6 separate regions of the Homo sapiens genome follow, and all the other regions are linked to region 1. Evidence: promoter capture Hi-C in 16 types of primary human blood cells and fetal thymus (Javierre and others, 2016). All regions are on one chromosome and are shown on one strand. The core of a region is centred on a gene start or on the middle of the fragment in contact, and the rest is flanking DNA. Distances in the headings are between cores, read along the strand shown. Region 1 holds the start of MIR1-1HG (MIR1-1 host gene). Region 2 overlaps LOC105372716 (a long non-coding RNA gene). Region 3 overlaps NTSR1 (neurotensin receptor 1). Region 4 overlaps NTSR1 (neurotensin receptor 1). Region 5 overlaps NTSR1 (neurotensin receptor 1). Region 6 overlaps RBBP8NL (RBBP8 N-terminal like).

What was found. Contacts are between HindIII fragments. The CHiCAGO score rates a contact against its expected background, and 5 or more counts as called.
Region 2: a contact is called between a fragment that was not itself captured here and the fragment with the promoter of MIR1-1HG in region 1, in 3 of 17 cell types (M0 macrophages, M1 macrophages and monocytes). The highest score is 8.7, in M0 macrophages.
Region 3: a fragment that was not itself captured here is called in contact with the fragment with the promoter of MIR1-1HG in region 1 in 4 of 17 cell types (M0 macrophages, M1 macrophages, total B cells and 1 more); the score reaches 8.5 in M0 macrophages.
Region 4: a fragment that was not itself captured here is called in contact with the fragment with the promoter of MIR1-1HG in region 1 in 1 of 17 cell types (naive B cells); the score reaches 5.5 in naive B cells.
Region 5: a fragment that was not itself captured here is called in contact with the fragment with the promoter of MIR1-1HG in region 1 in 4 of 17 cell types (M1 macrophages, neutrophils, total B cells and 1 more); the score reaches 5.7 in M1 macrophages.
Region 6: a fragment that was not itself captured here is called in contact with the fragment with the promoter of MIR1-1HG in region 1 in 1 of 17 cell types (M1 macrophages); the score reaches 7.0 in M1 macrophages.

The regions. Positions count from the first base shown.
Region 1 is chr20:62,547,656-62,552,336 of GRCh38, reverse strand. It overlaps MIR1-1HG (MIR1-1 host gene), which reads right to left and starts at 1,884. Exons shown (of 4, transcript NR_171007.1): 1 at 1,299-1,884. CRMA (cardiomyocyte maturation associated lncRNA) reads left to right here and starts at 776. Exons shown (of 7, transcript NR_033263.1): 1 at 776-911; 2 at 3,876-4,025; 3 at 4,337-4,510; 4 at 4,635-4,681. RefSeq lists an enhancer at 922-1,797. The HindIII fragment of the contact is 7,236 bases long and covers 1-3,405 here.
Region 2 is chr20:62,782,788-62,787,468 of GRCh38, reverse strand. LOC105372716 (a long non-coding RNA gene) reads left to right here. Exons shown (of 4, transcript XR_936986.3): 3 at 393-581; 4 at 3,640-4,251. Among named protein-coding and RNA genes, the nearest start is that of LINC00659, 8.3 kb to the right of the region's middle. The HindIII fragment of the contact is 2,684 bases long and covers 1,407-4,090 here.
Region 3 is chr20:62,762,390-62,767,070 of GRCh38, reverse strand. It overlaps NTSR1 (neurotensin receptor 1), which reads right to left. Exons shown (of 4, transcript NM_002531.3): 4 at 4,300-4,681. Among named protein-coding and RNA genes, the nearest start is that of LINC00659, 12 kb to the left of the region's middle. The HindIII fragment of the contact is 2,121 bases long and covers 1,500-3,620 here.
Region 4 is chr20:62,742,132-62,746,812 of GRCh38, reverse strand. All of the region lies in intron 1 of NTSR1 (neurotensin receptor 1), which reads right to left. Among named protein-coding and RNA genes, the nearest start is that of NTSR1-AS1, 9.1 kb to the right of the region's middle. The HindIII fragment of the contact is 4,880 bases long and covers 117-4,681 here.
Region 5 is chr20:62,719,299-62,723,979 of GRCh38, reverse strand. The region is part of intron 1 of NTSR1 (neurotensin receptor 1); the gene reads right to left. Among named protein-coding and RNA genes, the nearest start is that of NTSR1, 13 kb to the right of the region's middle. RefSeq lists an enhancer at 47-586 and a silencer at 2,414-2,606. The HindIII fragment of the contact is 3,085 bases long and covers 960-4,044 here.
Region 6 is chr20:62,416,501-62,421,181 of GRCh38, reverse strand. RBBP8NL (RBBP8 N-terminal like) reads left to right here. Exons shown (of 14, transcript NM_080833.3): 2 at 1,452-1,595; 3 at 2,717-2,759; 4 at 3,863-3,958; 5 at 4,310-4,422. The coding sequence starts at 1,535. Among named protein-coding and RNA genes, the nearest start is that of RBBP8NL, 8.7 kb to the left of the region's middle. The HindIII fragment of the contact is 375 bases long and covers 2,358-2,732 here.

The DNA of each region.
Region 1 (4,681 bases), core at 635-3,134:
ACGTGGGGGTGGGTGGGGGCGGGGGGTGGGGGTTGTGCTTAAGGCTCTGGAGGCATCCCCTCTACAAAGGAAGGAGCAAATGGCAGACAGAAGCAGAAGCTGATGTCCCATTTCCACGTAGCTGCTGTGATTTATCATTTTCACGTAGCCAAGGATACAAAAAGGGCACCCGACACCGCAGCCTGAGCTTCAACTTCGGGGGCACCTGGGTTCCGCCGCTCATCTGTGCCCTCCCAAGACCTCCGCAATAACCGTCCCCGGAGTCCAGGGAAAAGGCCTCCTCAACGTCCCCAGCTCCCTGGCACATGAGCTCTCAGAGCCTGGGACACTCCCGCAGCCTGGCTCAAGCCCCCACGACCTGTGAGGCATTCATCTGGACGGGGTCTGGGGGTCAAGGGGAAAGCTGGGAGTCCCAAAGGGCAGGAGAGTCACCCCAGACCCAGCCAGAGTCCACAGGACTTCTGCCCACTCACAAATGAATTGTAGTCACTTTTCAAAAAGTTTCCCGTCTGCATAGAAAAAGAGCACCCAGCCGCCTCCAAGCAGACCCCACCGTGAGCCGAGCTGGCTCCTGTGCCCGGGGCCTCCTCCGGGGCTCTTCAGCGGTGAATACCGCCCGGCCCCCGGCATCAGCGCCGCGGGAGGCCACGCGGGAAGTCAAGCTCCCCAGCAGGGACCTGCACAGACGCCGACCACCAGGGCTGCTCTCCCCGAAGCCCCCCTAGTCTCCGCCCACATGTGCCCCCCGCCCCCCACCTCGCCGCCCTGCCCCTGTAAACGCCTCCTGACCCTGACGTGGCTGGGAGAGCTGCAGAAGTGCCGAGTCCCGGCCGGGGGCAGCCTCGCCGCCGCTCAGCTCGGGAATCCCTGCCCCCCACCAGCACCTCAGTGGGGGATACTGCAAGTTCAAGGTAAGTTTAGCCCCACGCCCGGCTGCCGGGGCTTTGTTGCGGAGCGGCAGGTGAATCGCGCCCCCAGCCCAGCCCCGAAGCCCCCATGCCATCCACTGCCCGCGTGGGGGGCCGCTGCTTTCTTGCAAAATGCCCGCAAGTCAAAGTTCCTGCCTCCCAGCTGGACGCGCCCTCCAGGCCCTGCCGGCTGCTGGCTCTGCAGTTTTCCAAATGTGGATGATGCCGCGAGCCAAGAGAAAACTCCACGGCACCCCCGCCGGAGCCGCACGGCGCCGGCACCCGCAGCACCCACCTCGCTGGCAGGCACACCCCCCACCGCGGTGCCCGGCAAGTTTGCAGGGGCCGTCCCGGCGGCCCAGCGGTGGTGATGGGCTGAGCAGGACTCACCGCGGAGCCCAGGGCACCCCTGGGGCCGGGCTGGTGACAGCGGCAGCGGCGGCGGGCGCAGGGTCGCGGCTCCCTAGGAGATGCTGCAGCGGCGGCAGCACCAGCCACCTCCTCCGGGAGCCAATCGCGAATGCAGGGGTGGGGGCCGAAGCTCGATGCGTCCGCACTTGGTGGGGGCAGAGAGAGAAAGAAGACACCAGGCACCCCCTCTCCACACCCCTGCCCTTCCCCCAGCCCTCCTGCAGCAGCGCAGACTTAGCAGGAGGGAGATCTTGAGAGAGAGAGAGAGAGAGAGAGAGAGAGAGAGAGAGAGAGAAGGCGCTGGTGCAGAGTTAGGGAGAGGCGGCCGAGCTGCACACCTTGAGCCCCGGCCTCCTCCGAAGGGAACCCCTGCACCCCAGCGGGGTCAGCACAAGGTAGAGAAGGTAGAGGTCAGGGTGGAACAAAAGGGAAGGTCCCGCGGGTGTGCACGCTCTCGCAGGCACACAGCCGGCTCGCGGAGACACAGGGGCGGGGGAGGGGAGGGGAGGGGAGGGGAGGGCCTGACCTGAGAGGCCAGAGCGGGCGTGGGGGCCCCCCTCGGGTCAGGAGCCGGCCTCACCTTTGCAGTTCTTATATACCCGGCCAAGCATCCCAAACACGCGGCCCTGGCCAAGTGGCCCCCTCGGGCTGCGCTCCCTGACCATATTTAGTCAAGCAGGGGAAAAAATAGCCTGTCAGCTGGGCCGCGGCTGGCCCGGCCACCGGGAACAGGGTGGGAGCACCCACGCCATTGACGGCGGGTCCCGGGCTCAGGCTGCTGTCCTGCCCCTCCCGGCCCCTCCCTGACAGGCCTCCCACCGGCTGTCCCTGCCCGAGATCCCCCCGCTATTTTTAGCCCAGCCAGTACAGAGGCGCCTCCTCAGTAGCCGGGCAGCAGCCTCCATGCCATGCCAGCCGGCTCCTAGGGTGCCCTGGGGAGACCCGGGCATCTCCCAGGCTGCAGGGCCGGGGGTGGGGGGGGCGGGCAGAATGGTACGGCCTCCTTCGCTGCTCTGAGCCTCCAGTGGGCTGAGCCCACCCAGGCCACCAGGAGTGGGTGGCCCCCTCCACAGTCCCATCGGCTCTGCCCTTTTGCCTAGAATTGGGGCCAGGATCAGGTGGTGACAGAGCCACCTGGGTTTCCGGAGACTCTCAAGCCAACCCCAAGTCATGACAAATGCCAGTCGCCTTGGACAGAGGCAAGGTCAACCTGCTTGCCGCCCCCAGCCAGGCCCTGCCACCAAGGGTGTGTGATGGGGAGACCCCAATCCCGGGTGCTGGACGGGCTCAGGAGCTCCCCCTTCCGGGATTTCACGCCCGAATTATGTAACAGACGAGGGCCTGGGACGGGGCCTGACGGGGATCTGTCCTTGCAGGGCCTGGACGCAGAGACCAGAGGCCTGAACTGGCAGACTGTCCTCACAGGCTGTGTGACGCTGGCTGGTCGTCCCATCTCTCTGGGGCCCCACAGGACTGGGGACCAGGTCGTGGAATGACAGTGGACCACAGTGGTCCGGGGACCCCGCTCGTTGGTGGCAGGCACAGGCCCGTGTGATGGGGACAATGAGCTTTGGTATTTGTGAGTCCTGTCCAGAGCATAGGTCCTCCTGTTCAGAAGCCACCTCATAAATGTCCCCAGTGCCTCCCGGACTTAGGAAGGCATCCCCTTGTGGTTCTGGCCAGTTAGGGACACAGGGCCGGGGAGTCTATGCCGCTCAGAACAGGCTCAGCTGCATCTAATCCCAGGGGAGCCCCTGAGGAGCCTGCACACCCCCCAGGCTGGCCCACAGGAGCTGAGGCAGGGCTCTCCTCCAGGTTCACCTCCTGGGCTCACGGCCCCTTCCCCACATCCCAAGGCCGGCTCTGCAGAGTCATGGGGAGAAGCCGGAGCCCCAGCCACACTCGCCACACACGCCGACACCCACTCTGGTGTCCTCCGGCCAGCGACAGCGAGGGACAGAGGGACGCCCCCTGCACCTGCCCAGTGCAGAGGCTTCTTGAGTGATGCCAGGCCCTTCTCCCAGCCCTGTACGCCCCGCTAAAGACCCCATGTCTCACCATAAAGGAGGCCAGGAGGTTTTAAGCTTCTACCTGGTCTGAGCACTTTTCTGGAAACTAAATAGCCACTCGGCTTCCCACTGGCAGCGGGAGAGCGTGGTGTGAGGTGTGGTGTCCAAACTCCCCCTGCAAGGCCCCTCCCCTGCAGCCCACTTCCTCCTGCCTGCCGTCTCCAGGCAGGGTTGAGGGGGGCAGGCCAGGCCTGCAGCTGGGGTCAGGGGCATAGACAGCCACAATGGGGGAGGTGGGGAGCAGTCTGCAGGCCTGGGCAGGCGGCTCTGTAAAGGATGCGGGTGCTTTGTGGTGGTGAGAGAGAGGGTATGCAGCAGACGTGGCCATAAATCACCCTCCTCACGGCAGCCCCACACCCACGGACCAGGGCACGGGCACAGGGCCATCTCCTTCCAGGAGAAGGGCTGGTGTGGGTGGCCAGATCTGACAGCCCCCAGGCCGTAGGACAGAGCCAGAAGACAGAGCAGTTCCCCCGTTTACCCATAGCACCAGCCTCACAGTAACAGCCGGCACACAGCACTTAGGCTGCCTGGTGTTCCAGAAGCTTCTGCAGGGGCTCTATGCTGCACTCAAGGCATCCCTAAGAGGAGAGCATTTTGCTGTCCCCACTTTACGGAGAAGGAACGTGGGCTCAGGGTGGGTGCCTCACTCTCCCAAGGTCCCATACCAAGCACTGATCGGAGCTGGGTGTGTTCTGGCCCCCACCATGTCCACGGCTGTCCTCGCCAGGGCAGTAAAGTCAGAGCCCATAGCCCTCGCCCCTGACGGCCCAGGGCCGTGCTGCCCGTGGCCCACTCCACCATGATTTGAAAGGGAGACCGCAGTGGGTAGGAGAGACGGGAGGGAGGGGAGAGGGGAGAGAAGGGGGAGACGGGGTAGAGGGGGCAGAAGGGGAAGAGAGGGGAGAAGGGCCTAGGCCCCCGAGACTTTCCCCTTGGTGTCTGCAGGTGGTTTAAGGCGTGAATGAATGAAGGAGCAAGCAGTAAGCCCCGACAGCAAGGCCACCACAGCCCTCGCCCCACAGGGACGCCTGAGCAAGGACCCAAGCAGGGGACAAGCAGGCTCACCCCGCCCTTGCGGGGCTGACCACGAGGCCCCGTCCGGTGGAACACGCCATGACGGTGAGTGCTCTGCCCTGTCTCACACGGCTCCCACTGGCCACGGTGGCTGCCAAGCTCTCAGAAACGGGGCTGGTGCCCCTGCAGACCTGGATTTTTTAGTCAGTGCAGCTTTGATTTGTTTCAGCTTCAGGAGGCTCATGTAGCTGGCGCCGTATGGGACAGCGGGGGAGA
Region 2 (4,681 bases), core at 1,499-3,998, 230 kb before region 1:
GGGGACAACCCCTTATAAAACCATCAGATCTTGTGAGAGCTCACTCACTGTCACAAGGACAGCAACCTGGGTAACCGCTCCCGTGATTCAGTGACCTCCCCCTGGGTCCCTCCCATGACACGTGAGGATTATGGGAGATACAATTCAAGATGAGATTTGGGTGGGGACACAGCCAAACCATATAACCTAGTTAGAATCATCCTATAGACGAAAAAGGAGGTCTCAAATGTATGATTGAACGAAGGCAAATGTCCAAGATCTTAACAACGTGAAGGGGACATAAGGAAAAGATGAGGGTGGGAATGCGGGTGGGAGGGGACCCAGGCTTTCCCTCCGTGGGAGTAGTCAGAAGTCACCAGCCAAGAAGCACAGCTCCAGTGCATTGCTTACAGGTATGAAGTATCCACCGGCCATCTGAAAATAATGCAGTAACTAAGAAAAACAGTGGCGAGAGGAAGGAGTGTCGATGCCCCAAATGGATCATCTTCCAGAGCACGTCTACACCGAGATCAAGAATGAAAAGGTGGGAGCAGATTTAAGGCTCTTGGGCAGCTCTGCGGCCTGCTGTGTTGAGTGTCCTGGTGAGCAAATCTCTCAGGTCTGGGTGGTCAGGCTGGCTGTGGCGGCGGCCAAGGCAAGACAGATGGGTATTGTTGGGCCCTCCTGGACACACTGCAGCCTTGGGACACAGGCAGGTGCTGGCTACAGTCAAGTGGCCTCTTGTCCTTGCTGCGTCTGACCCCCCATCCAGCCTGTGAGCCCTACCTTCCTCTTGGGGCTAAGCAGCTGGAGGCTAGGCTTCCCTCTCAGGGCCTCAGACAGTGCAAGCCAGAGGCGTGGGCAGCTGACCAGGCTAGGAGCACTCCTGGGCCACCTGGGCTCCCAGCAGGGTGGGGGGCTTGTGCCTCTGCCCACGCTGCAGCCACGTGGGCTCCTCTCCTATTCGCTGGGAGCTGGAGCAAAGCATCAGGCTCTGTGCCCTGCAAGCCCAGAAATGCCTGTGGGCACTGGGGCCTGCCTGCTGGCGGAGGCTGAGCTGACTCCAGGAGCCCTGGGGGTGGGTCCCGAGCTCCGTGTGGAGGTGCACAGGCTTGACGGCCACGTGAGAACCCAGATGCTGCGGTGCTTGCTGGGAAACTCCGGGAAAGGCTCTACATGGCCTTTGTCTGACTTGTCTGGGTAATTAGGGAAAACGTCTTCCGGTGGGTTTTTGTTTCCCTGAAGTTTCTGGTGATTGAGCTCCTGGGAAGTGAGGCTGGTTTTTGCTTGGCTACCTCAGGGCCTCAGCAAAGCCTGGAGGGGCTTGGCGGCTGGTGGAAAGGGGCCTTTTAAGCCGCTTCCTCTGGGACTCACGGCTGCGCTCTCCTGGTGGGGCCGTCGCAGGCTGAGCGTGACAGGCAGAAGCTTCTGCCCAGAGTCTCTGGGTCTGTGATGGTTGACAAGCCCCACAGGGCCCCTTTCTCTTCCCCTGGAATAGTGGGGTTGTGTGTGGGTCTCCACCCAGGCCCAGGGGTGCAGGGGCCCTCACAGGGCACAGGGGTCCTCGGGGGGCGTAGGGGTCCTCAGGGGGTGCAGAGGCCCTCGCAGCACTTGCTGTTCTTCCAGGTCTGGGCAAGAGGCCCCGCCGCGTTCCCTTAATTCTCAGGTCTTTGGAGTGAATGCCTAAGGCCTCCAAGCCCCGGGTCTCCTCTGTATCAGGCGCTCACGCTGTGGGAGCTGCTTTCTCTCTGCTCCACTTCTACAGAGAAAGAAAATCACAAGCATTTCCCACACTTCCCCCAAGCCTTGACGTATCACAGTTCACTCATGGAGTTGTCAACAGACACAGGCACACACAGACCAGACTGTGGGCTCGGGAGGCGGGAACAAACCCCTCCTTCAGGAGACCTGGCAGCAGGCCAGGGGGCGCCCCAGGGCCCACCCAGCGCAGGGGCAGGCAGCCGCTCCCTCCTGCCCCTCGCCTGCTCCAGCTGTGGGCACTGGGGGCTGCCCCTGGCCCACCCCGCCCTTCATCCCCTCACCTCTGCCTCACCCCATGCTCCATCCCTCCCATGTCTCACCCATCCCACCCTACCCTCACCCACCTCCACCCGCCCATCAATTCCCCCACCTCTGCCTCACCCCACCCTCCATCTCCCCACCCGGTCCCACCCAGCCCCATCCCACCTTCCATCCCCCACTCCACCCCATGCTACCCCACCCTCCATCCCCCACCTCTGTCCCACCCACCCCATTCCCCTCACCCTTGTGCCCCGACTCTCCAGCCCCATCCCTCCTCCACCCAGGTTATCCTTCCTGCGGTACTTGGTGTGTTTCAGTCTTTAGTAAATTTAAAATAAAATGTGGAATTTTCCCTTCGTAACTGTTGAATCTGGATGCTGTGCACACAGGTGCATGCGATACTAGTCTCTCGACTTTTCTGTCTGACGTTTTTCATAATACAAAGTTGAAGAATATAAACAGCTGTCTCTATGCTGATGGAAACGATTATTACAAAAACTGAGCCAGTCATCGCGCACACAGCAAAAACACTCTGGGATAAAAGAGTCCCTGCTGAAAAGTATCCCCCACCAAGGCTGCCTCCGTTAGGAGAGCTGAATCCCTGCCCCGGGAGGCCTGGGTTTCTGCCATTCCCTAATCAAAAACCAAACAGGTGGAATCCGGCCTCCCCACACTTGCCTCCCTCCCTCGCAGCGTGGCCCGTCCTAGAGGCCAGGCTGTGTTGGCCCCTGGAGATCTGGCCCGGTTAGCACAGTTCTGCTGGGTGCAGGTGCGGTGCCCAGAGCCGTGCTCACGCGGCTGAGAGAGAGGCAGGGGAGAGCCTGAGGCAAGGGAGTCCTTGCTGGGTTGGGAGCTTGAGGAAGGCGGCCCCACCCGAGTGGCCACTGCCAGATACGCTGCCCTCTGCAAGGGGCTTCCTTGGCTTTCGGGCAGGTGATGCCCTAGGATCAGCTGCTGCTGATGCCAGCGGGTGTTGGTGGGGAGCACCCAGCTCGTCACCCCTGGGTGGGAGGCTTATACACCCCTCTTGAGGGCCCTGGAGGGGCTGAGCCCCAGCAGCCCCAAGTGTCACCTCTCTTCTTCCTGCACCTACTTGTGGAGTGTGGCCTGGGGAACACTGGGCCCACCGCTTCTCTCTGAACAGCCACCTCTGTGGGATCGGGGGCTCCAATAGTGGCCAGGTTAGGCACTTAGCAGACTGTGGGCAGGGGTCCAGGAAACCCCACAGCGGGAGCGAGGAATCTGACTTTGCAGCGAGGAGGACGCAGCGGCCAGGATGTTGGGCCAGGCCAGTTCCTTTTGATTTTATTTATTTTTGAGATGCAGTCTCACTCTGTCGCCCAGGCTGGAGTGCAGGGGCGCGATGATCTCGGCTCACTGCAACCTCCACCTCCTGGGTTCAAGTGATTCTCCTGCCTCAGCCTCCCAAGTAGCTGGGATTACAGACACCTGCCACCACACCGAGCTAATTGTTGTATTTTTAATAGAGACAGGGTTTCACCATACTGGCCAGGCTGGTCTTGAACTCCTAAACTCAAGTGATCTGCCCACCTCGGTCTCCCAAAGTGCTGGGATTACAAATGTGAGCCACCGCGCCCAGCGTCTTTTGTGATTTTTGACACAACTTTCTTATTTCAGGAATTGGGATCCTGACACATCCACCAAAGAGCCTTTGAGTACTTCGAAATCACTTGGAACAGGTTCCTGCAAAGCAAACCCTTCTGGGCTTGAGGAGGAAATGGACCCGGAACATTCAGCCCATCTGAGCACAAACTTTCTGTTGACCTGAGAGGCTGAGGCCTTCCTGTTCCCCACTCAGACCCAGGAGGCAGCCTGCCCAGGGGGAGCCGGGGCATGGCCTACGAGCTCCTGGAGTCAGGCAGCTCCTGAGGGGCCGGATGGTCTTGGGCTGGCCAAGCCAGCCTCTGTCGTCCTGTGGATGGTGGGGCCTTGTGTACGCATAGCCTCTGCACAGGGGCACACTGTGGGTGTTTGGACGGACAGTGTCTCAAAAACCCAATTCAGGGCTTGACAGCAGATTTGTCCTCCACTCCATGTGCATATGAGCAAGGAGAGTTAATGCAAAGCTTTCTTCATAGCAGAAGGTTGAAAACAATGTACCTTTCTATCAGCAGAGCAGGCAAGGGGGATACTGTGTGTTTCCCACTGCTGCTGGGACAAATTATAACAAATGTAGCAGCGTAAACCAACGTCCATTTTTCATCTCATGCTCTGGAGGTCAGAGGTTCTCGCGGGTTCTTCTGGTTTTTCTGTTCAAGGTCTCATGAGGCTGAAATTGAGGTTTCAGCCAGCAGGGTTCTTGCTGGGAGGCTCCAGGAAGAACTGGCTTCCTGCTCTGACAAGCTGTTGTCAGAATCCAGGCCCTACAGTTGCAGGACCTGGGTCCCACATCCTTGCTGGCTGTTGGCCAAAGGCTGCTCCCAGCTTCTGGAGGCTGCTCCGTTCTCTGGCTCACGGCTCCATCCTCCATCTTCAGAGCAAAACCAGGTCATGTCCTTACCTCGACTCTCTCTGCCTCCGCCTCCTGCCTTATGGCTCGGCCTCCAGGGAGAAGCTGGCCAATGCGCTCTCTTTTAAGGGTTCATACGCTGGGCTCACTGGGGAATCCAGGATTGTCCCCCACCTTCACCTTAACCACAGCTGCCAAGTCTCCTTCCCC
Region 3 (4,681 bases), core at 1,311-3,810, 210 kb before region 1:
GCTGGCGTGTGTGTGGCTGTGGATCCTACGGGGTGTTTATGAAGGACGCTTGGTGTGTCCTTGGTCCCCACGCATCTTACTGCTGCTCCCACCTGCCCACCCGGGAGGAGGCTGACCTTGTTGCCTCGCTGCTCCAGCTCCTTCCTCCTTGGCACAGAGCCCAGGGATCCCTAGAGAGAGGCAGAACTGGAAAGACCACAGGGACCTCAGGCTGCTCCCGCTTGCTGGGTCTCAGTCATGAAGAGCCGTGGGTGTGCGAAAAGCCGGGAGAAACCAAGTGGAAGCCAGTCGGGATGGTGGTCAATGTAACAAAGACCCCAGAGAAAGGAAAGGGCTGTGGGGCTAGGCGGTCTTCTGGGAGGGAGAGTGGGGGGCTCAGAGGGAAGCACGGAGTGGAAGGAGGAGGGCGGGCAGGAGGAGGGGCAGTGACTGTTCTCTCGGTTGTTGATCTGGGTTTGCCTCCATGCCATGTGGCACCCCATGATTTATTGGGGTGATACTGAAACTCACCACCAAATGGTACTTATTCCTCCCGGCTTTAGGCACAGACTTTCTTACTTTAAGGAGAACTATGTTGTCTGAATCCAATAATTTTACTTTAAAAATGTAGCCAGAGTTAAAAAATAGCTATTGGCTAACAGCCCGTGTGAAAATTTGCCGTGGGGAATGAGGGCGAGGACCTGAATGGGTGGGTGGGGGAGGGTGCCCGTCATCCGAGACCACCCATGCCTTGTGTTTGCTCCTTCACCTCTGCCCTCCCAACCTGCGCCCCAGCCCTGCCCCTGAGCCTGACCAGCGTCCTGGGGTCCCCTGCAGAGCCCACCTTGCTGCGGTCACCCTTTTGGTCAACTTGCCTGGGGTGAGAGCCCGCCACATCCACCTCTGCCTGGCTGCCCAACCAGCGTTCCTCCCTGGCATGCTTTCCCCATGCCCCCCAGGGGGAAGAGAGGAGCCAAATGGTTCCCAGAGGCTGAAGCAGACCCCAGGAGGCTCTGGGTGTAGCCTGGACAGTGTCTACACAGCTCGGCGTCTGAGGCTGAGGTGGGAGAGCCTGGGCATGCAGGGTCTCCTGCCGGGTGAGCATCTCTGATTTGGGGGCAAAGCAACCCGTACCCTGTCCTTCATCCCTCTCTGAGCCCCGCAGCCTGGAGCTTCCTCCTGCCACTGCCATCAGTGGTCCCTACCAGTCCCTGGGGCAGCAGCTTGGCTCTGCCCTCTCACTGCTCCTGGGTCTTGGTGTGCTGGAGGCTGGGTGCTTTTCTCACCTGGCAGCTCCTGGGGAGGCGTGCCCTCCCCAGGAGGGGGTCACGGTCCTTGGGAGGTGGGGTCTTCTGAAGGTCCCACAATGGCGAGGGCAGAACCAACACCAGCTCCGTGCAGCTCTCCCCCTCCCTGGCGTCCCCAGCTGTGAAACAGGTGGAGCTCGCCTTCGGCCTGTGGGCCTGCAGGGTGGGTCACCGGGAGCACATGAGGGCTGATAGGACCATGGTCTTCAAGCTTAGGGAGGCTGTGGGTCCTTGGCAGATTACCAGAGCCTTGGCTTCCTTGGCCAGTCAAATGGGAACAATGACCTAAGGATGCTGAGCCCCAGGGCGGCCGGAGGCTCCCTACACACAGCTGGGTTCAGCCAGGGCTCCTAGGTGATGCCTGGCAGAATCTGCGCTTAAAGTCCTGTCTCCCAATCCTCTTCCTCCTCCTCCAGAGATGCAGTCAGAGAGACAGCCCCCAGCTCCAGGGAGGAAGCAGGGAGAGGGAGGAGCAGGGAGAAGAGAGGAGAGGGAAGAGAGGCTCGGAGGGAGGCTCAGAGGGGAGGGAGCCTCAGACCAGGGAGAGGCTTGAAGGGGAGAGAGGCTCTAGAGTGGAGAGGAGAGCAGGGACCTGGTTGCAGGCAGTGCTATACCCTGGGCCACCTCCAGAGTGACAGGAGCGGGTGGCACCAGGCTCCACTGTTGGTGGAGGGGGCTCAGACTAGGCCGGGGCAGAGAAGGAGCCGGGCAGCCAGGCATGAAGCTCATGATTGACACCAATTCCTTAACCTTAAACATCACGGAGTGTCCAACTCTGGGGACGAATCGGGGTGTGGACAGGTTCAGGCAGGGAGCCCGTGGAGGGCAGCAGTCGAGGGCCCGGGTACCGCTCTGGGCCAGGAGGGACACTGGCCTGGCCGCCAAGGCCAGATGCCAAGGAAGGCAGCCTCCGCCTCCCTCCCAGCTCCCCTGACGCGGCCAACCTTGGTCCTGCGGGCCGGGCCCTGAGTGCTAACTTCCACCTTATCCCACGTCCCAGCTCACAGTGGCAGAGCTGGAGTCCAGCCCAGGACCCTGTGCGTCACCACCTGTGCGCTCATGGCTGTGCTGTGCTGCCGGGGGAAGAGCTGGCATCCCCTCTTCACCCAGTGCTCGCCACGCAGCCTCTGGGTGCACAACACAGGCCCCCCAAGGGCTCCACATGGTGGGTGCCCTCTCCCTGTGCCCACCTTGTGGCCACGCACAGCCGAGGGGAAGCGGGACCCCGAGGCAGCAGGCTCTCCTCGTCCCCATCCGGCCTCCTCCTGGCTCTGGCTTCCCTCTGTCGGGGGTTTAAGGCTTCCTAGAGAGAGCAGCTGTTGGGTGAGAGGGTCTTCCCGGAGACCCTGCAGCCTCTTCTGAATCAGGGGCCCAGGAGTCCTCACTCAAGCCATCCCCACCTCTGAGCTGGGCAGGTGCGGCTCGGAGGGGAAGGTGGGGGACCATGCCCTTAGGGTGGGTGGGGTTGTCCTGTGTTTCTGCTGTCCTTTGGGTTAAGGTGTGGGGATCTTTGTTACCAGGAGATGCTGTGGCCACTAACGCTTTAGCACAGATAAGGACAGGCTGAGCCTGGTGGGGATCTGGGGCAGCGCCGCTTGGGAGGGCAGGCGAAGGTGAGTGCTGGGTGCTGGGAGGGAGGGGCCTGGCAGCGTGTGCCAAGATCCCTTTAGATGATCAGGGTTATAGTTTATCTCCCCACCCTCACCCAGACCCCTCCCAGCCCTGCTGCCACCTGGCTGCCCCCAAAGGAAGGAGTCCTGAGCCCCCAGGCACAGGAAAACAACACTTAGAGAATCTCTAAGTGCTGCAGGGAGGTGGAGGCAGGGCCAGAGCTGCTGAGGACGGCCAAGAGGACCCCCTCAGGAAGGGGTGCTCCCTGCCATCAGGACCCAGGAACCATGGCAGGCTCCTGACCACGAGGGCCCCAAGGCTCCTCCCCTCTCCCCCTAGGCCCCTACTCAGCCCCTCCATGGGCGCTCAAATCCCTCAAGCTCTCAACCCGCCTTCTCCCTCCCCTATTGCTCCCCTAGCACCTGCCCTTCTCCTCTCCAGCCACTCTGAGCCCCTCATGTCCCTGGGGAGACCCCTCACTCCTGCACTCTCCCTTGCTCAGGCTCTGCCTCCCACTGGCCCACCTGCCTCCTCCTCCAGGCAGCCTTCCTGGACTGTTCAAGCCCAAGCAAATGCTTCTTTTGCTGAGCTCCACAGGGTGAGCCCAGCACTCCTAATCCTGAGGCCCAGGAGGCTTATGAGAAAGACCCCAGGGCACCACCCTGCAGACTCTGCTGTCACCGGCCTCTTGTGGCTCAGGCTCAGGCAAGCCGGAGAAAAGCTTTTGGTGCCCTAAAAAGGAGCACAGCAGAGAGCCAGAGCCGCCCAACCAGGGATGGAGAATGACCCGGGCCTTGGCGGGGGAGAATTGGAAACGGTGGGTCTGGGAGGTGCCTGGGAACCCTCATTTTCAGAGCAGAAGCCCTGGGGGTGAGGGTTCAGCTGCATCTTCTGTCTCCTCAGTAGCCTGCACGGGGCTGGGCCCAGGCCAGAGGCTCAGTACTGCACCCGGGCCTATCTGTCCACTGCTAAGGCCTCGATGGGGCCATGGCCCCCTCCCCCACAACCACAGGACCCCTGGGCTGGCTAGAGGGGGCCATGGAGATCTGAGCTGAGCGGTCATGGGACCCCGGGCTCCCCGCTTCACTGAGCGTCCTCTGTGTTCAGCTCACAGATCAGGAGACTGAAGCTCAGGAGACGGTGAGGACTTTTGCCCACACAGGCCCCTCGGTGGTCACTAGGCCCTGCAGGGGGCCCACTGCTCCTTGAAGCACTAGGGAGGGTGGGTGGGCTGTGAGCAGAGGGATCCCGGCGCCCCCCACCCGCCAGCTTCTGGGACCAGAGCCCTGTAGACTTTGGTAAGAGGCCCAGTGCAGGCTGGCTGCTGCGTCGGTGCGTGTCTGAATGAAGGAGTGAATGAATGAGTGGGTGGGTGGGCACATGCAGGCCCTCAACACTCAAGTCCACATCGAGGCCCTTCGGCCACCTTTATTGAGAGATACACGGGGTTTGTTTTCACCACCTGCAGATGGTGGGAGTGGGGGTGGGCGTTTGAGCTGTGAGGGCTGTGCCGTCACCAGGGGCCGGCTCAGGGGCTCCGGACTCCATGACCGACGCACTCATGGCACGCAGGGCCAGCTTCCGGGGCCACATCATGACCTGGCCGCAAGCTAGTGATACGAGATCAGGTGTCGTGGGTGTGTCTGTGGTGCGTGGACACGTGTCCCTACCTACGGTAAGTGCACAGATAGGAGCATCAAGACATCAACGGGAAAAGCCGACTTCAGTCACAGCCACAGACCCCGCCCCAGAGACCCCACGTCTACCGAGGGTCTAGGGCAGTG
Region 4 (4,681 bases), core at 1,307-3,806, 190 kb before region 1:
CCTGGCCCTGCCCTGGGGTTTTCTTTTTTGGGAGGTTTTTGGTAACTGATTCAATCTCCTTCTTTGTTATTGGTCCTTTCAGATTTTCCATTTCTCGCGATTGACTCTAGGAAGCTTGTGAGTTTCTAGGAATGTATCCATTTTTTCCAGGCTGTCCAGCTGGTTTGTATAAAATTGTTCACAGTTTATTATGATCCTTTTGATTTCTGTGGCATCTTGTAAAGTCTCCTCTTTCATATCTGATTTTAGCTATGTCTTCTCTCTTTTTTCTTGGTTAGTCTAGCTTCCCTCCACCTTTCTCCCTTCCTCCCTCCCACAAACATCACTGCCTTGGAGAAGCCATAGGAGCCCCTGCCGTCAGAGGTCTTGGATCCTGGGGAGGAGAGACCACTGAAAGAACCACCTGCAGTGACTTCAGGGCCAATAAGAGCTACAGACACAGCGATGCTGGCGGCAGCCTGGCTGCAGTAGTGCTGGGGGTTCCGGGAAGGCCTCTGCTTGGAGGTGACTTCTCATCTCTGACCTGATGGCACCCACAAGCCTACAGGGACCCTAAGCTCTCCTGGCAGACGGTCCAGCAAACTCACAGACCTGAGAACTCAGGGGGTGAGAACTGAACAGGAAGCAGACGGCCAGGCTGGGGTAGTGTGGGGGCCTGGTGGTGACCCGCCGGGCGGCAGCCTTGACCTTCCCCCTGGCTGACCCCTTCTCTGACCTCTGCTAGTGTGGCCCCCGTCCCTGCCCAGGCTGAGCGTCTACCTCTCTAGGCGTCTCAGCCCTGGCCACATAGGGTGGCCTTGAGGGACTTTGTCCAATGGACTCAAGCAGCTTGAAGGCCATGCAGGGCCGGCCAGAGGATGCCTCAGCGCCACTGATGCCACAGCACCCTGGCGCCTTTCGATTTGTCTCTAAAGAGAGCAGGGAGTCACCTGGCCCAGCCCCATGAATATTCTGGGGGACGCGTGGTGGCTGGGACTCCCAGACCGCCTGGCTTTGCAATTCCAAGCAGCAGGGGAGGGTCATGGCCAACAGCAGGGAAGCCCTGGGGACGGCGAGGCTGTTCAGCAGCTGTAGAGAAGGCCATCCAGTCCCAGCGAGGTCCACGCCAAGCTGGATTTGGAGGCGAGGCAGAATATGTGTCTCTGTCTGTCTTTGTATCTTTCTCCTGTGATGTCTCTGTGTTTTTCTCTGTGTTTTTCTGTGTCTCTGTCTCCTTGTATGTTTTCCTTCCTGTGTCTGTCTCTGTTGTGTCTCTCTCTGTATATCTGTGTGTTTTCCTCTGTGTCTCTGTCTTTCACTGTTTTCCTGTGTCTGTCTCTGTCTGTGTGTCTCTGTTGTTCCTGTGTCTCTATCTCTGTATCTCTGTGTCTCTGTTCTCCTGTGTCTCTCTCTGTCTGTTTTCCTGAGTCTGTGTCTCTATCTCTATATCTCTGTGTCTCTGTCTCTATCTCTGTCTCTGTTTTCTTGTGTCTCTGTATCTCTGTCTCTGTGTCTCCCTGTGTCTGTTTTCCTCTATGTGTCTGTTTCTCTGTCTCTGTGTCTCTCTCCATGTCTCTCTGTGTCTCTGCTTTCCTCTCTGTGTCTCTCTCTCTGTCTTTGTGTTGCTGTCTGTCTGGGTCTCCCTCTGAGTCTGGTGTGTGTACCAACATCCTCAGGTGGCAGGAACTGGCTGGGCCACCCTCCCTGGAGCCGGCTGGGTAGCTGGGCTCTGGGCCATGGGCCTCAGTGGCTGGGTCTGAGGTTTTAGGGGTGGATGTTCCAGAGCAGAAGGTCATGGTGGGAGACAGGGGTGTCTGCTGTGACAGCCGTGGTGGTCTGGAGGTGGGGCTGCCTCCATGGGAATCTCATTCGTGCTTCTGGCAGTATCCTCTGCTGTGTGCACCCCTCAGCTGCTACCCCTTGCCTCCTAGCCCTGTCTGGGTCTGGGAATGGCGTTTGAGTGGTTGGTAGGGCCTCAAGCCTCTCAGAAGCAGCCGAATGCCTGGGGTTTGGTGCCAGAAGTGGGGGCCTGGCTTGTTCCCTGGCCAGCTGTGAGCTCGGCAGGTCCTCCTGGGCCTCAGGCTCATTTCTCTCTTTTTTTTTTGTGAGACTGAGCTTTGCTCTTGTTGCCCAGGCTGGAGTGCAGTGGCGCGATTTCTGCTTATCACAACCTCCGTCTCCCAGGTTCAAGTGATTCTCCTGCCTCAGCCTTCCTGAGTAGCTGGGATTACAGGCATGTGCCACCATGCCTGGCTAATTTTGTATTTTTTTTTTTTTTTGAGACGGAGTCTTGTTCTGTCACCCAGGCTGGAGTGCAGTGGTGTGATCTCAGCTCATTGCAAGCTCCACCTCCCGGGTTCACGCCATTCTCCTGCCTCAGTCTCCCCAGTAGCTGGGACTACAGGTGCACGCCGCCATGCCTGGCTAATTTTTTTGTATTTTTAGTAGAGACAGGGTTTCACCATGTTAGCCAGGATGGTCTCGATCTCCTGACCTCATGACCCGCCCACCTCGGCCTCCCAAAGTGCTGGGATTACAAACACGAGCCACTGCGTCCAGCCCCTCAGCCTCATTTCTAAAAGAGCGAGCCTAGAGGTGCTGCCTCAGTTCCTGGAGCACTGACTGTGCTCCCTTGGGTGTGGGAAAGGAAGCAAATTGGGGGGCACAGGACTGCGGCTTGGGAGGCTGGGATGGGACACGCTGGGGCGACGGCTGGTGGGGCTGGACCTATGGGAGGGACAGCCTGGCCTCTGCCCCCTCGCATGTGTAATTTTGATGGGGAGGACGGAGGTGGAGTGAAAGGTTAGATAATGAAACAGCAGGTGTGTTAGGGGGATCTGGACCGGGGCGCAGCCTCTGGGTGGTTGGTCTGAGCTTGGCCGTGGAGACCAGGTGGGGAGCGGGAGGGGTGCACACGGTATGCCTGCCCACAGGTGAGGGCACAGCCAGACAGCAGGAGGGTGCCCCCGACACAGGCTCCAGACAGCCGGCCTCAGCCCCTCGACCTCAGGCAGGGCGTTCTCACCTCGCTCTTCGAGAGCAATTGCTTGTTTTGTATTCTGCCTTTCTCTCTAATTCATCCCATTGTGTTTAGATCAAGAGACAGCCCCAGACTGGCACACTGCTTCCCGGCTCCGCAGCCAGCCTGTGCTGAGTGGGAAGGTGCAAAACCCTTTTGCTTTGCAGAACCCAGAGGCTTTGTAAGATGGCTGCAGAGGCTGCGGGGCGGGTGGGAGGGGAGGCTCCTGTCCACACCCTCCCAAGGGGGTGACCGCTGGGGTGGCCTTGCTGGGCTGGCAGGGGATCGCCCTCTCCCTGAGCAGATGACCAGCCCCAGCAGGGCCCAGGCTCACGGACGGTCTTTTCTAACCTCCCAGACAGACTCCAGGTGGAGAGGCCCCCACTAGACCCAGCAAACACTGACTTGGGAGCAACCCTCAGGGTTCTCATGACCCCGAACTGCCTTCCCCACCACAGCTGAGGCCAGGAACGATGGCAGAGTTAATTCAGAAACCCTGTGTGCCAGGGCCGTCAGCACAGGCTTGTTCGAAACCCCAATGATTGGTGAACAACTCAAAGGCTCACCCTTTGGGGCTGGTCGCCATGGCATGACGCACCCACACCACGGGGCACTCAGCTGACTGGACCGGGGGCAGGGAGCAATGAGGCAATGGGTGGGCCTGAGATGGCCGGGATACGTGTCCAGCAGGGGCGGCTCCGTGCTCCCCTCCCAGCCTGACTCTCTGGATTGGAGCCTACCGAGCTGATCTGGGGAGAGGGCAGGGTAGCTGGGAGGGTCTCAGGTGTGTCCCCCAAAAGCTAGACTCCCACAGTGAACTACCTACACAAACAAAGCTAAACTCAGAGAACGTTCCACTTGCCTGTGCTGTGGGTATGTCCCGTGACAGGTGCCCTGGGATGAACAGGAACCCCACGGCCACACCAGAGCCACTGTGACCACCTCACAGCCCTGGAACTGGGGAAACACTGCGGGGAGAGGGATGGGAACCCTGGTGGGTCTCTGCTCCCCATGCCAGAGGTGGGGTGCCAGGGCCAAGAGAGCAAAGGGGTCTTTAAGGTGACACAGCCCAGCGCTTTCCAGGAGTGAGGTCATCCAGGAGGCTCTGACCAGTGGCTGTCCTCAGAGGAGACACCATGGAGGGACCCAGGGAAAAGCAGCGGCCACCCACAGGACACCTGAGACCTAGGGCCCTGTGTAAACAGGTGTCTGGGGAGCAGAGGACGGAAGGCATAAAGAACTGCCAGTGTGACCTTGTTCTAGAAGGTTCTGGTAGTGGCCAGCTTGGGATACTGTGCTGTCCCTCAGTCCCCAGTCTCTTTCCTCGGTCCTCCCTCCCAGGCATCTAAGCAGTACCAGGCCCGGCTCGAGATGCTGCTGGGATCTGGAATGCAAAGCTGTGGGACTTGCTGCCCAGTGGGGACACGCCTGACTCATGGTGGATGGGGGCCTGGAAAGCCGTACATTGCCGCGTGGTCAGCAGTGACCACAGACCTGGCCTGAGGAGGAGCCCACACACCACCTCCTGGAACGCCAGCATTTCTGAGTCCCTGAGGGCAGGACTGGAGAGAGAACAGGCGTGTGACCTGGAGGGGCCATGTCAGCCACCTCGGTGTCTGTGGGACCACTGTGGGGAGGGGATGAAATGGACGGCGCAGCTTCTGGCTAGTACTTGGCCCCTCA
Region 5 (4,681 bases), core at 1,253-3,752, 170 kb before region 1:
ATGGCCCCTCCCATCTCTGCCTCCTGCCCCAGAGGCTGCTGCCTCCGCCTGACCTGCTGCCACAGGAAGACCACCTGGAGACCACCCAGGGGGTCAGCGTGTTCACCTGAAGCCAGCTTCAAAGCAACCCCAGTGTTTCGCTGGCTCGGCCCTGACTCCCTCAGCCCATCACAGGTGCAGAGGAAATAAAGCCCCGTGCTTGGGGGCTCCCTGTACTAAGGACAGGCCAGAGAGAGGAGCTTCAGGCTGCTGTGTCTGAGGAGGTCCCTGGGCTGGAAAGACCTCTGTCCCCACTGGCAGCTTCTGTGTCTTAAGGGTGCAGGGCAGGGCAGTGGTGATGGGAAATGCTGGTGAGCCCTGGACCAGGGATCCTGGATCTGGTCCTCCACCATGGGGTCAGCCCAGATGGAATGGCTTATCCCTCAGCTCCAGGCAATAAATAGTGACCCCCGACAGCCGCTTCCTACTGTGCACATCCTGCTGGGCACGCAGCCTGAAGTCGACAGGTGGACAAATGAGCGTTCCTTGCCCTGGCTCCTGACCAGCACATTCCGGACGGCTCTATTCGCAGCTCCGGAGTGACACGGCCCAGACACACTTGCGGTCCCTCCCTGACTCGCAGGAGCCGGGGGCTTCGTGATTCTGCCAATCAACTGGGAAGTGACACCCCAGACAGCAGCATCCCACGGCTGTTGTGAGCAGTTACAATTGAGTGATGCCCAAGCAGGAATGATTCCCAAACAGCTCCCGTACTCTCTGAATGCTGAGAGCCTGGAAGTGTGAGTTTTTAAGGAGAGGAACCGTGTTTGAATTATAAGAAAACAAGGCTCTTGAAATAATTCTCTTAACCTTTAAATATGTCAAAGGAGAGTTACTGAAATTTACAGTAAGTTCACCTTTTCACAGACAACAGGCTAAAAATGTTTAAGTCCAAATAATGTTGCTCTTTTTCATAAGCTTCAGTGTAAGATTTACTCAAACACAGTGGCTGTCCTCAGACTCATGTTTCTTGGATAACTCTATTTCTTTGTTCTGTGTTCTTTTGTAACATTGTTTTAATAATTCCTTTGAGCCCAAGCCTTTTATCATAAGCTGCCTCAGATCTTTTTGAAAGTAGGCAGTGTTTAAAATCTACGGATGACTTTCGCCAGGGGTACTGGACTAGCTCTCCTGCCATAAACAACTATAAAATTGTACACGATGTATCAGGCAGTTGTTTTCAGACCCTGGACAAACCTCAGGACTGTGGTCCCTAAGGGCATGGATACTCACAAGGTGAGCCCATCATCACCATGCCTCTGTTTGGGGACAGTTTCCTGATGGAGACGTAAGAGCTGAGGTCCGGGCAGAACGTTACTATCTGAGCCAAGGAGGCAGAGATCAGAGATGCGGGCTGTGGCTGTGGCTACATCTGCAGAGCCAGGTGCTAGAGAGGGGGACTGCATGGTGACGGTCCTCAGAAGCCTACACCGGCTTTCCTGTGGGATCTGTGCTGGCCCAGCGTGTACAGAACAAGGCCACGAAAGGCTTATCAGAGGGTGGCTGGCATCCTGGCAGAGCTAGGGGGAAGAAGTCTCATTAACACATGAAGCAGCCAACAGAGATGCCAGGAAGCCCATGACACAGGAGGATGGAGAAGCCCTAGAGCAAGGCCTCCAAACCCACCCCAGCTAAGACAGAATCCACAGAGGAGGCTGAAGGTGCCCACTGAGTTCTTCCAAGTGAGAAGGGATATTGGAAAATGCCTTGGGCTTTCCGTAGTTGTTTACTCAACTAAGCATGAAACCAAGCCGACCCAAGTTCAAGATGACGAGTCTGCCACTGAACTGCCTGCTAAAATAAGAATCAACCCTCTCCAAAGGAACACAACACAATCCAGTCTCTTTAATGTGTCATCTACAAGGTCTAGTATAGGTTAAAAATTACTAGATATGCAAAGAAAGTAAAATGTGACCCATTGACAAGAAAAAAATGAGTCCATTGAAACAGACATCAAGGTGGAAGTGAGAAGCAGGAGGTGTCAGGTGTAAATCAGCATGATATGAATCTGATCAGACTCTGAGCACTCAGAGTCCACTCAGAGGCATACTGATATTCCAGGGCAACCATTCCAAGAGCAAATACAGAGAAGTGGATCTAAAGAAGTCAGCAGAGGACATAACATGGAATACTCGGGCTTCCTGGCTGGAGGCCTAAGGAAAGGATCCCTGGAAACTAGAGAGTGTGACAGGAAATCTCAGAGAGGTGAGAGCTGAACAAGGGGATCCCCCAGTTCTGTGTATGAGTCAACACAAGTCCTGGAGTTACCACATATGAGGAACACACCTAAACAATTATAGTTAAGGGCTTGAAAACCGCTGTGATATAAACGATCTCCAAGATCTAAGCCTGCCCCTGAATGGCACTTTCATGTGGAATGGCTGAACAGCAAAAGACCCAAAAACAGGCCTGCATTGGAACCACCACGGACAGACAGTGAGACAAAAGCGGCAGCTCTGACCAAGCGGGCTGCCTCTCCAGAGGATTCTAACATAACCCAAAGAACCACAACAAAATTCAAAATGTTCAGGAATTAATTCAAAATTACTTAACAGAAAAAGAACCATGGAAATGGGACTAACTCTCAAGGAAAAGAGAATCAATATATGCCACCCTCAAGATGACCCAGAGGATGGATTTACCAGACAAAGACTTTAAAGCAGGCATTACAACCATGCTCCTTGAGGTAAAGGTAACTCTCTTGAAATAAATGGAAAAATGAAAGTTCTTAAAAGACAAAAAGAAACTATATTAAAAGAACCAATAAAAATTCTAGAATTAAATACTATAACACTATCCAACAAATTGACCTTCATAGAATAATATACCCAGCAATGATAGCACAGCACATTCTGCTCAAGTGTGCATGTGACATTCACCAGAATAGACCATTATCCTAAACCATGAAACAAGCATTCACAAAATTAGGAATTTAAATCATGCACATTTGTTCTCTAAACATAATAGGGTTAAATTAGAAATGGATAAAAAAGTAATATCTGGAAAATCCCAAACATTTGGAAACTAAACAACACATTTGTAAATAACACAAAGGTTAAAGAGGGAATCTCAAGATATAAAAAAATTTTGATCTAAATTAGAATACAATGTTCAAAAATTTTGAGATGCCACTAAAGCATTAATTAGGAGGATGTTTATAGCATTTCATGTTTATGTTAGAAAAGAATAAAGATCTTAAATCAATAATCCAAGCTCCCACCTTAGGAAATCTAGGAAAAGAAGAGCAAATTAAACCCAAAGCAAGCAGAAAAAGGAAATGAAGAAAGAAATATAAATAAATAAAATTGAAAGCTAAAAGACAATAGAAAAAAAATCAATGAAATCAAAAGCTCATTCTTGAAAAAGAACAATAATGTTAATAAAATCCTAGCCATATTGCCCAAGGAGAAAAGAGAGAAGTCACAGATTACCAATATTAGAAATGAACAAGGAGACACTATTACTGACCCCACAGACATTAAAAGGATGATGACAGAATACCACAAATAAATCTATGCTCTAAAATTTGACAAAATAGATTATATGGACCAATTCCTCAAAAGATACAAATTACTAACACTTACTCAAGGAGAAATATATAACCTGAATATTCCTTTATCTTTTAAAATAATTTGTCTTGTGAGATGGAGTCTCGCTCTGTCACCTAGGCTGGTGTGCAGTGGCGTGATCTCGGTTCATTGCAACCTCCACCTCCCGAGTTAAAGCGATTCTCCTGCCTTAGCCTCCCGAGTTGCCAGGACTACAGGTGCCCACCACCACACCTGGCTAAGTTTTGTATTTTTAGTAGAGACAGGGTTTCATCCTGTTGGCCAGGCTGGTCTCAAACTCCTGACCTCAGGTGATCCACCCTCCTTGGCCTCCCACGGTGCTGGGATTACAGGCCTGAACCACTACACCTGGTTTCTTTGAAAAGAATTGAATTTATAAAAACCTTCCTACAAAACTCCAGGCCCGGATGGTTTTGCTGGACAATCTACCAAAGCTTTAAAGAGGAAATCATGCCAATTCTACACAACCTCTGACAGAAAACACAAAAGGAACAAGAACCTCCCAGCTCATGTTATGAGGCCAGAAAACCAGATGAAGATAACCCAGGAAAATAAACTTACAGACCAATATTTCTCATGAGCATAGACACAAAAATTCTCAGCAAAACACTAGCAAGTCAAAACCAGCTAATACACGACGAAATGAGGTCTATCCCAGGAATGTGAGGCTGGTTCATCATTCAAGAATTAACCAAGGTTTTCCACTTATATTTGGCCCCCGGAGTGGTCAAATTCACAGAGACAAAAAGTAGAATGGCGGTTGCCAGGGGCTGGGGGAGGAGGAGATGGGGAGTTAGTGTTTAACAGGCGCAGAGCTTCAGTTTGGAAAGATGAAAAGAGCTCTGGAGAGGGAGGGTGGAGATGGTCGCATGACGATGTACCGAGAGGGAGGGTGGGGATGATCGTATGACGATGTACCGAGAGGGAGGGTGGAGATGGTCATGTGACAGTGTACTTAGTGCCACAGAACTGTGCACTTATATTGATTAAAGTGGTAAATTTTACGTGATGTACATTTTATCACAACTGGAAAGTAATCAATATAATTCACCACATTAACTGACTAATGGAGA
Region 6 (4,681 bases), core at 1,296-3,795, 130 kb after region 1:
AGCCACCCGGTGAAGAAGTCTGAACTGCAGCGGTTTGTGTGCCACAAACACTGGCTTGCAGAGGCCCAGCCACTTGACCGGTATCCCAACCTCCCAGGCCTGGAGGCCAATCTGTGGGAGGAGGGGGAAGGGTCAGGGGAGGACAGACAGACAGTCACAGCGCCCCCAGGCTCACTCCGCCCAGCCCTGCCTGGGAGCTCTCCAGGCCACTGGGAATTTGGAAAGGTCTGGGAGGGTTTGACGATGAGTGCTCCAGCCCAGGTCCCCAGGCCCAGCCTGCAAAGGCCCCACGGCCCCTTAATTCTGGCCTTAGTCCGTGAGACCACAAGATACCCACTGCCTACCAAGGACCTCCTGAGACCTGTGGGTAGGGGAGGCAGGCAGGGAGGGAGGGGGCCTGTGACCTCTTCAGAGTGGCTCCTACCTCTTCCTGGAACCTTCCAGCATCTGCGTGTGGGAGCCGCTTCCGGGCAGAGGGGGCTGCTGTGGCTGTGTGTGTTTCCGTGTACCTGCAACTGCATGTGTAGCTGTGTCTCTATGTCTGCACAGCTTTGTTGTCAGCATGTGTCTGCGTATACCCATGTCTATGTGTCTCTGTGTGTTGTGTGTGGGCATCCCTGTCTGTGTACATATGTGTTGTATGTGTGTAACTCTGGGTGTGTGCCTGTGTGTTGTGTGTATACATGCTGTGTGGTGTGTCTGTCTTTGTGCATGTGTGTTATGTGTGTACATGCTCTGTGTGTGTCTTTTGCATATATGTGCATGTGTGTTGTGTGCACATGCTATCTGTGTGTGTGTGTGTGTGTGTGTGTGTGTGTGTGTGTGTGTGTGCCTGTGGGACAGGATTGAAGCTGCCACGGCATTGGAGGGGGACAGAGATCCCAGGAGGGAACTGAGTACAGGGCTCTGGTGAGAGGGAAGGAGGTGCTGTGACAGTGGTGTTGGGGCCGGGGTGTGGACAGTGGCATGGTAGGGTCTGTGGGGCTCTTACTGGTGAGGTCTGACTCCCAGCTTCACAGCTGGGCAGGTGCCACCAGCACCATCCAGCTCTTGCCAGGCTTCCCTGTCCCTCCATTGAGGTGCCAGGGGAAGGGCTTATGTGGGGACAGGCCAGGCACTGATGGGCTGGATACCTGGGGAGAACGGGGTGGCTCAGAGGTGCCGGCACTCACCCCAGATGCTCCCTGGCCCCTCCAGCCCCTCCCGCACGGCAGCCAGCACCCTGCCCTCTGGCCCCCGGCCACATACGTGTGGGAGGAAGCCACACAATGTACTATCTCTGTGCCTGCCCGTGGGGTTCGGGAGCCTCCAGGCCACCTCCCATGAGTAGCCCCTACAGCATGGCATGGGGTCTGCTCCATACAGACACAAGGAGCCCCAATCCTCTCCTGGACTCCACAGCCCACAAGCCCTTCCTGAGCGGATCCCTGTCCCCTCTTCCTCCTCTTCAGGATGGACACAGAGGGGCAGTAGAGGCTGCAGGCGTCTCCACAACCCCAGCGCAGAGGGGCCCGGGCCAGGGCCACAGGGAGCCATGGAGAGCTTCATGGAGTCGCTGAACAGGCTGAAGGAGATCCACGAGAAGGAAGTCCTGGGTGAGGGGCCAGGGACAGATGCCAGGCTAGGGAGGGGTCTCCACAGCCCTCACCTAAGGGTCGGAGCAGGCCACTGTGCACCCATGATCACCTCCAATTCCCACCAAGTCAGGGAATGGACCCCGTCTTTTTGGCCCAGGCAGGGGAGTCCTGACCCAAGGCCCAGAGCTACAACGTGGCAGACACCCTGCCTGGGCCCGAGTGCTGACCTCAAGCGGGGATGTCCTCGAGCCACTCCCAGAGTGTGACCCCGAGGGGGAGGGGCACTTTCAAGGGTTGCCACCAACACCTCATGGCCACCTGCCACCCGCAGGCCCCATGCTGCCCATGCTTTGTTCTCCCGTGGGCCGGCCTCCAGCGTGGCAGAAAGAAGTACCCACCCTGGCCGGCCTGCTGAGCTCACCAGGGCAGAGACAGCCACTTCCAGAAACAGGAGCTTATGGCTCTCTGGACCCATCCAGAACATGTCAAGGCACTGAGCTGCAACTCTTCTCTTCCTTCTAGGACACGCCCCAGGCCCCACCCCTGTCCACTTCCCCCACGAGGGACAGGGCCGCAGCCCCCACACCACCCCCAGTCCAGTCCCAGGGCCAGCACCTCCCCGTGGTCTTTCCACTGAGCACCCACACCCACCTGGAGGTCCAAGGACCCGGCTGCCTCCTAGGCAACCCAGAGAGGTGGGGCTGCTGGGGCTAGCCAGGCCCAGGTTGGATCCCCAAGATACGGCAAGGAGAGGGTCTGGTGGGGTCCGCCCCAGAAGCTTATCTTATTTCAACACTAGCTATGACACACACACACACACAAAATGGCCCCTCGGTCCCTCTACCTTTCACAGGTGGCTGGTCACTTGTGGCACCAGGGTCCCTGCTCACCCCCAGACACCCCCAGACAGATGCCGGAGGCAGAGACCCCAGGGGAAGCAACAGATGCTAGGCCGAGACCACCGAGCCTCAGGCAGCCCCGTGCCTGGGCACAGACAGGGGCTCACCTGGCAGGGCTCCCCCAGGGGGTGCAGGGGACAGGAGTGCCACATTGCAGCTCTGCCCAGACCCCGTGGTGGGGACACTGAAGGTGAAGCAGCAGCTGGGCCTGACCCCCCGCCCCTCTGCTTGCTCCCCCAGGCCTGCAGAACAAGCTTCTGGAACTGAACTCAGAGAGGTGCCGGTGAGTCAGGCCAAGCAGGGCCCCTCCTCACAGGGACCACACTGGCCACTTCATCCCCCTGAAGCCCCAGTGTGCCAGCACTACCACCGTCCTATGGTGCAGAAGGGAAACTGAGGCTCAGTGTGGGGGCGGGGGGAGTCACTTGTCCAAGGTCACACGGTGAGCAGGCAGCGAAGCCAGCACTTGAACCCAGTTGCGTCGGCCTCCCAGGGGCGGGGCAAGCCCCCTACTCGGGGCTTCTCCCACCCCAGGATCATGATCAGAATATCAACAATACGTTCACGGTGAGCTGGGGTCATGTCTGGTCAGACACTGGCGGGCGGGCAGGCTCCCTGCGTTCTGGCTTATAGACCCGGCTATGGTCCTGCCTGTGCTGTGGCACTAAAGTGGTGCGTGGACAGGACAGACGTCACAGAGGAGCGTGCAGATGACAGGGGGGGCGGTGTGTGGACAGGACAGACGTCACAGAGGAGCGTGCAGATGACTGGGGGGGCGTTGCGTGGACAGGACAGACGTCACAGAGGAGCGTGCAGATGACTGGGGGGGCGTTGCGTGGACAGGACAGACGTGACAGAGGAGCGTGCAGATGACTGGGGGGGCGTTGCGTGGACAGGACAGACGTCACAGAGGAGCGTGCAGATGACCGGGGGGGTGGTGTGTGGACAGGACAGACGTCACAGAGGAGCGTGCAGATGACTGGGGGGGCGTTGCGTGGACAGGACAGACATCACAGAGGAGCGTGCAGATGACTGGGGGGGGTGCGTGGACGGGACAGACGTCACAGAGGAGCGTGCAGATGACTGGGGGGGGTGGTGCGTGGACGGAACAGACGTCACAGAGGAGCGTGCAGATGACTGGGGGGGCGTTGCGTGGACGGGACAGACGTCACAGAGGAGCGTGCAGATGACTGGGGGGGCTGCGTGGACGGGACAGACGTCACAGAGGAGCGTGCAGATGACTGGGAGGGGGGCACCGGGTTAGGCGTTGCCCCCAGACCAAGGCTGCAGGTGCCGAATCGCGCTGCCCCCCCAGGCTGGATGGTGGGGACAGCGTGTGGCTTCCTGGATGGAACAGGACCCCACTTTAGCTGTTTCCCACCACAGGGACGCCCAGAGGATCGAGGAGCTCTTCTCCAAGAACCACCAGCTCCGGGAACAGCAGAAGACACTGAAGGAGAACCTGCGGGTGCTGGAGAACAGGTGGGCCTGGGAGGACACCTCGCAGCATGGCCAGGACCGGTGGGCTCAGGAGAGGAGGAGGTGACAGGGCTCCTCGGAGAATGAGTTTGGGAAACTCCAGGATAAACTGAACCAGGAAGGTTTCCCCACTGCAGGACATCTCAGAGCCTTAAGGAAATTGCATTTTCAAGATTTCTCCCCAAACTCAGTGGAACATGGGACACCTAGCCCACGGGGTGGGAAGAGGCCTGGGGCTCTACGGAATAGTTTGCAAAGGGCAGGGGCACTTCCCAGCAGTGGGGCAGTGAGTGTCCCAGGCCCTCTGTGGCTTCCGTGCCATCCCTCACACCCCCTGCGTCCCCATCCCTGCAGGCTGCGGGCCGGCCTGTGCGACCGCTGCATGGTCACCCAGGAGCTGGCCAGGAAGCGGCAGCAGGAGTTCGAGAGCTCCCACCTGCAGAACCTGCAGCGCATCTTCATCCTCAGTGAGCCCCACCCACCAGACAACCGGGGTCCTCTCCCACGGGGCCAGGCGACCCCAGGCCTGTTCAGCCCATGTAGGGGCATGGGGAAAGGAGGCAGGACGATCGGCCCCACACCACTGGGGGAACCTCACAACCCAATCTACAGACAAACACACAAAGCCCCCAGCCGGCGCTGGTGTGGCCCTCCCTCAACACAGCCTCCCTCCCCTGGGCTGGGGGCATCCCGGCCCCCACTGGGCGCGGCCTCCTTCCTGAGATG